Linked DNA regions of Homo sapiens: region 2 is linked to region 1. Evidence: promoter capture Hi-C in 16 types of primary human blood cells and fetal thymus (Javierre and others, 2016). All regions are on one chromosome and are shown on one strand. The core of a region is centred on a gene start or on the middle of the fragment in contact, and the rest is flanking DNA. Distances in the headings are between cores, read along the strand shown. Region 1 holds the start of NEUROD4 (neuronal differentiation 4). Region 2 has its middle 9.7 kb from the start of OR10P1.

Region 1 (3,192 bases), core at 254-2,753:
ACAAATAAAGATAAGTAAGAGATTAAAGAGCTGCTGAAAATAAATAACTTCCCATGAAAACTGAAAAAAGTGTTAATTTTTATTTTCTTGTTTTCTGTGAAAAACAAGAGTCATATGACACATATCAGAATTAAAAATAACTATTTTCAAACTTAAGATACTCTTTTCAACTTTATGAGCAGTGAAACTATCTTTTGTTTCAGCCCTCTACAGTTTTCCTTGCACACAGGCATATTAATAGTTTTTCATTTCTGTTTGACGCATGTGCTAGTTATGTTGTTAGACCACGCGATTCTCAAAAAGCTGGGGATACTCTGGTTTCTTTTCAGATTGTATAAATGTTTTGCCTTTTGCCAAAACGCCTGAGGAATTATCCTTCAAGTCAATTTCTAAAAGAAGTTGAACTTGGATTCGTAACTCTATCAGGCTACTGATGGAAAAACTCATTTTACAGATATGAAAACTGATGCCCAGAGTGAAGTTGACTTATTCAAGATCATTCAGCCAATTGCTTAATCTGAGCACCTTTCTTTTTCCTTCTTGGAAACACAAGATGATTAGAAAATCTTTGGTATCTTAAGTTCACAATCATTTATTTTTCCTTGGTGTAGTTTTAAATAAGATAGTATGAATATCTATATACTTAAATTATTCCAGATGTAGTTTTCTTTCTGTCTTCTAGCAATTTAATTCAACCTCCTAATACCAAAGGAGTTTTAGGAATTATTATGAGCCTTCTCTTCTTCTAAGCTTATTACTACTCAGGTGGACTTTTTCTACGTGAATGCTTAATGATGTATTTTTGAAAAACAATAGTAGATCTCAGTTTGTAACTCAAGGAACTAACTGCCCTTAAAATGAAGGATTTTATTAATTTCCTTTTTGTTTTTATAAATTTAAAGTGATCAGAAAGTTGAAAGAATAGCACAACAAATATAGCTTCACCTAAATTCACAAATTAAAAGTTTTAATGAGAGTAGCTTTGACGTGCTGAAAAGGTGGGAGAGACATACTTCTTCCTTCTACTTTTAGAACGCTGAAGTTTATAAGCCAAAGACCCCAGTCCACATGTGTAAGGAAGCAGCCACTGATGCTGTGTCCTTGACACGCATCTTTCTCACCTTTTGATTCTTTTCAGACGTGGGTCAGCAGCGTCATCTGCCCTTTTTAGCTCTCTCTCCAAGTCTATCCCCAATTTTCTTTCTCCATTCTGTCCACACTACTCCGCTCCCATTTCTTATCTTTTTAATCACAAAGGTTTCCAGTCCTCTTTTTCTTTACTCCTTAACTTCAGCAACTCTCCTCCCCTGCTCCCCTTCCACCAACCCCCATCTCTATTTAAACAAACAAACGGGCGGCAAAACTGGACCTGGCCGGAGGAGCCTTTCAAGTGGGCGTGTCTTTCGGCTGGGGAAAAGGGAGGAGTTAGACTCTGGGCAACATCACTCCTCCCTGGTCAGCTGGGAGAGCAATCAAAACTGCAGCAAGTCAGAGGCTCCGGCCAGAGAGCAGGAGCTGCCCAGAGGCTTGTGGTCCTGAAAGCTCCTCTCCGGGGAGCTAACCAGGGAGAGGAGGTACTGAAGAGCGACTAAACTGGCTGCAGCGGAGAGATCAGCCCGAAGGCGTCCTTGAGGAGCATACGGAACTCCAAGGAAGGAGTAGAATAAGGAGCAGGCAGAGAAACCAGACCCGGTGGAATCTCTAAGAGGTAACAACCGGGTTTGACATGGATCGCTGAAAGCGTCTCTTCTACCATCTGGATGGTCAGGGAGACTTGGCTTCTCTGACTGTCCTCTAAGACGCAGATTCACAGAGTTCACTCCAGGAACGGCCAGTGACCGAGGTGAGCCAGTGGTTGGGGTGGTAAGGGGGCTAAAGTTTCTGTGGGAAGTTCCCACTCACCTAGAGGAGCAGTTGGGGTGAGGAAAGTCTCTTCTGGGTAAGGCAGGAGGAAGTGAGATTTAGGAAACTTGGAATGTAGAAGCTAGTGAGTTGGAACACTTAGGGACAAATATAAACATTTTAAATAATTTTATTAAATTTTATAGCACTTGCCACCCAAAGTGAAACACATAGACACTCACAATCATTTTAATAAAGTGAAGAATACAGATGATCTCCCCCAATTCCTGTCAAAGCCACTCTTTCATTTTGTTAGTGGTGAAAATGTCGAAAAGTTTAACTGCTTTTCCAAGGTGGCCCAGCAAGTAGGTTGGAAGAATTGACCCAATCCACCACTCTGCTCACAGCATTTTAGGGCTATGCAAGGACGGAGGGGGAGGCAGGGAAAGGAAAACAGAATGAGGAATCAGAGAAGATTGTGGAAAATCCTCGGGGTAGATTCTCACCATTAACTATTTTGTTTACTAAAAATGCTTGAATAGTTGGCACAGGGTGGGGGAAATTTCCTTTTCCTCAGCTCTTTCAGATGGGAAATTAGAAGAAAAAGATTGTCCAAGTATATTTTTCCTTTCTCTGCTTCACACTCATCATTTGCCCGCAAAAAAAGTATACTCAGAAAATACTAATTAAATGTAAAATACCCACCCCCATTTTTTTGACAGAGGAAGCAGAGGTGAAATGCTGAAGAACATGCAGGGAAAAATAAGGGACTGAATAACTTCTGTTAACTATTAAGATCTGAGGCAATGGCACCTGAAGTATTACATGGCTTTGCTGGACAAAATGTGTGTGTATGTGCATGCATGTACATACATGTGCACATATATTAATAAAGGGGAAAATAGTAGAGTAGAAAAGAAGAGCATAGAGCAAACTACTGGCTTTTTCCAAGCAGTACAACTTGTGAACATCCTGATTTGGATTCTGTCTTTTTAGTGCCAAGACTGTGCAACTCTGGGAAAAGAATTTAGTCTATTTAGTTCTTAGATTTCCTAGAAACTGGGCTGGACAGCCCCCTTTCTGTTGTATTTAGTCATCGGATCAGGAGGTAAAGAGATTATCACCAGCTTTTAAGAGGAAAGACACCATCTAACTACCACAAATCCACATGTGAGTTCCCCTTACCTATTAATTAGTTGAAATATCTCCACAATAAATAAAAAATTTGTAAAAGTGTAGAAAGAATTCCAGGATAGCTTCACATAGTAGTAATGCTTAACGACTTTGGCCCTAGTAGTAAAAATATTCAGTAGTAACAATCATTGCCTAAGCAAACACTTTGCTAGAACA
Region 2 (3,192 bases), core at 349-2,848, 610 kb after region 1:
AGTCGTTAGGTTTAGTGGCAAGGGGTGCCACTCCTACTTCAACCCCTTGGTAACCAATGTATTTTGTATTTGTATTTTGGCTATTTGGCTATTGTATTTCGGTTATAGGAGAATACCACATATTGGTCTGGGGTTCAGAGCCTATGTCTCACCTATAAGAGATCACTCAAACTTTTCAAGGTTTTTTCTCCCAACTGGTGCTGTATTTGAGTTTTTAATTGGCCATTCTATTGTTCAAAAAAGGCCAGGTGGTTCTGGGGAATGAAGTTACAGGGTAATCCCAATGAGTCCTGTGAGCATTGGCACATTGTCTCACTTGTTTTGCTATATATTTTTTCCTTGATTAGATGCAATATTATGTGAAATATCATGACAACAAATGCAGCATTCAGTAAGTCCGTGGATGGTGACACTTGCAGATGCAGGCAGACAGGAAAGATAAATCCATGCCCAGAGTAAGTGATTATCCCAGTGAGTGCAGAGCATTGCCTCCTTCAGGCAAGGGGTACAATGTAATCAAACTATCCCCAGGCATATTAGTTACCCATTGCTATGTAACAAATTACTACAAAACTTCCCTGCCTAAAACCACAGACAATTATCATCTCACAGTTTGAGTTGGTCAAGAATCCAGGAGAGAGCAATGAGCTGGGTGCCTCTCGCTCAGGGTCTCTCACGAGGATGGAGTCAAGCTGTCACCGAGGGTGCAGTCACTTAAGGGACAACTGAGGTTGGAAAATCCACTTCTAAACTCATTCATGTGCCTGTTGGCAGGCCTCAGATCTATTTCCAGGTTCACTCACATGGTTGCTGGCAGGCTTTGGCTCTTCCTCATGTGAGTCTCTCCACAGGCTGCCGAGTGTCCTCAATATGGCAACTTGTGAGAAGGGGGAAGAGAAAGACAGAGACAGAGGCAGAGGAGAACCAGACAGGACCCAAGATGAAAGCCAAGTCTTTTTGCAACATAATGTCAGATATCCCATCACTTTTGCCATGTTCCCTTCATTAAAAGCAGGTCACTGGTTCCAACCTACACTAAAAGGGAGAGAATTACACAAATGCATGAGTATCAGAAGATGAGTTTCATGGAGAACTATCTTAGAGGCTGCCTACTACACCAAGCTATTGTTACTGGCAAGTTACACACTCAGCCATGGCATAGCCAGACCAGCCTTGGTGAGGGGAACCATTGTCGGTAAGCCTGTGCCTAACCTTCATCCCTTCCGCCATGGACATTTTGATTGTGATCCCTTGAATAAGCACTGGAGATGCTGGAGAAGGCTGACTGACATCTACCAGCTGGGTCATCTTGATCCCTAAGTATTAACAGTATCTTCTGTAGTGAGAGACCTTTCGTGAGCATCCACATTGTCTCACCATTGTCCCACATATTCACAAATAGTCTCGCAGTCTGGACCCATTTTCAAAAGCTCATTCATAGAATAGTAAGATGGTTGAGAGCATGAACTCTGCAGCCAGATCACCTGGATTCAAATGCCAGCTCAGCCATTTACTAGCTGTATGGTCTTGTTCAAGTGCCTAACCACGCTATGCCTCAGATTCCTCTTCAGTAAAGTCAGCATAATAGTTGAAACTACCCCACAGTGTTTTGGGAGGATTCAGTAAGTTAATATATAAAAAGTGCTTAGAACAATATCTGACACAGAGTGAGCATTACAGAAGTGTTAGTGATGATGATGATGGTGATGATGATGATCCCCAGAATGCCTTGTCACTCATTCTCCTGTATTGTTCCTTCTACTTCCTAAACCTCCTGCCAAACAAACCATTAGCTGCTGCTCATGGATCAATGTAAATCCATATCTCAGGCCATCCTTCTTCCAGGAAAAGCAGACTCTTTAAGTTGTACTATCAAAATTCTGCTCAGCAGGCATTTTTCTTCTCCACTCTTCCTCAGGTCACCCCTTTTTTCCTCAGGGTCAACCCCCATTACTGGGGCTATAATGCCATAGATGTCCATATCTAGTTAGTCCCAGCAGAGTTGTGCAAAGTTCTCTGTAAAGCTGGGCCCAAATATTTTTCCTCCTCCATCAACCAGTCATGAGGAACACTACATGAGGCCATAGGAAGAAAGGACATTAGTGTGTCAAGAATAGACATGACGGGAGTGTGGACCATGAACTGGTGGAATGTCCTTGTGACTTCAGGACTTCTTCAAGTCTGATCTCATGTATGCCCCTTCACTTGAAGATGGGGTGCTTCTGGGCCTGACCATGCAGCTTTATCAATTGGGAAACACCCAGGTCATAAAGGGCAGCTCAGGTTGCAGAGTCACCTGGTATCCCAGGGTCAGGTGTTTATCCTCTGCCAGAGATCAAATAACAAGCAATGGCTCAGAGCAGTGGCTTGTGCTTGTAATCCCAGCACTTTGGGAGGCCAAGGCAGGAGGATCACTTGAGCTCAAGAATTTGAGACCAGCCTGGGGAACATAGTGAAACCTCATTGCTACTAAAAAAGTTTTAAAACTTAGCCAGGCGTGCTGGCGCACACCTGTAGTCCCAGCTACTCAGGGGGGCTGAGACAGAAGGATTGCTTGAGCCCAGGAGGTCGAGGCTGCAATGAGTCCTGATTGTGTCACTGCACTCCAGCCTGGATGACAAAGTGAGACCCTGTCTCAAAAATACATAAATAACAAACAAGGAGATATTTCTCAAAAGTATAATAGTTACTTGGTGAAGAGGGCGTGGACTTTCTCTGAATCCTTGGGGCCTCCACTACAACTCTTCTGTGAATGGGGCTTTTCACAGGCTCCAAACAGCACCAATTCAGCCATGGCACTTCTCACACCTTCAGATTCCCTTAGTCATAAAAGCCAGCAACAGAATTAGCTGTATTGCAGCCTGGACCAGCCAATATCCTTCTCTTACTCTGGGCCCCTGGCAAAGCTACAAGTTTTATGTGTTTAGCTGAAAATATAAAAGACCTAAGCCTGACAGTTTCTTTCTTTAAGCTGCCAGAGCAGTTATGAACAGCAACCAAACTCACTGTCATTTAACTCCTTGTACCCATACCATGCTCAGGAATCACCATTCAGCGGCACTTCAGATGATGATAGGTAGTTATTTCTGTAACTGTTTCACATCGGAAGGCTGAAAACCAAAGATTACCAGTCTTCCATCCTCCAATAGTACTGAATCCTCATTGTCTTTAAACCCAATGAGATCAAATGAT

Evidence for each region. The method cuts DNA at HindIII sites, captures the fragments that hold promoters and counts their contacts. A CHiCAGO score of 5 or more calls a contact.
Region 2: a contact is called between a fragment that was not itself captured here and the fragment with the promoter of NEUROD4 in region 1, in 4 of 17 cell types (neutrophils, M0 macrophages, M2 macrophages and 1 more). The highest score is 6.8, in neutrophils.

Annotation. Positions count from the first base shown.
Region 1 is chr12:55,018,471-55,021,662 of GRCh38, forward strand. NEUROD4 (neuronal differentiation 4) reads left to right here and starts at 1,504. Exons shown (of 2, transcript NM_021191.3): 1 at 1,504-1,843. The HindIII fragment of the contact is 8,784 bases long and covers 749-3,192 here.
Region 2 is chr12:55,625,580-55,628,771 of GRCh38, forward strand. No RefSeq gene overlaps it. Among named protein-coding and RNA genes, the nearest start is that of OR10P1, 9.7 kb to the right of the region's middle. The HindIII fragment of the contact is 3,558 bases long and covers 1-3,192 here.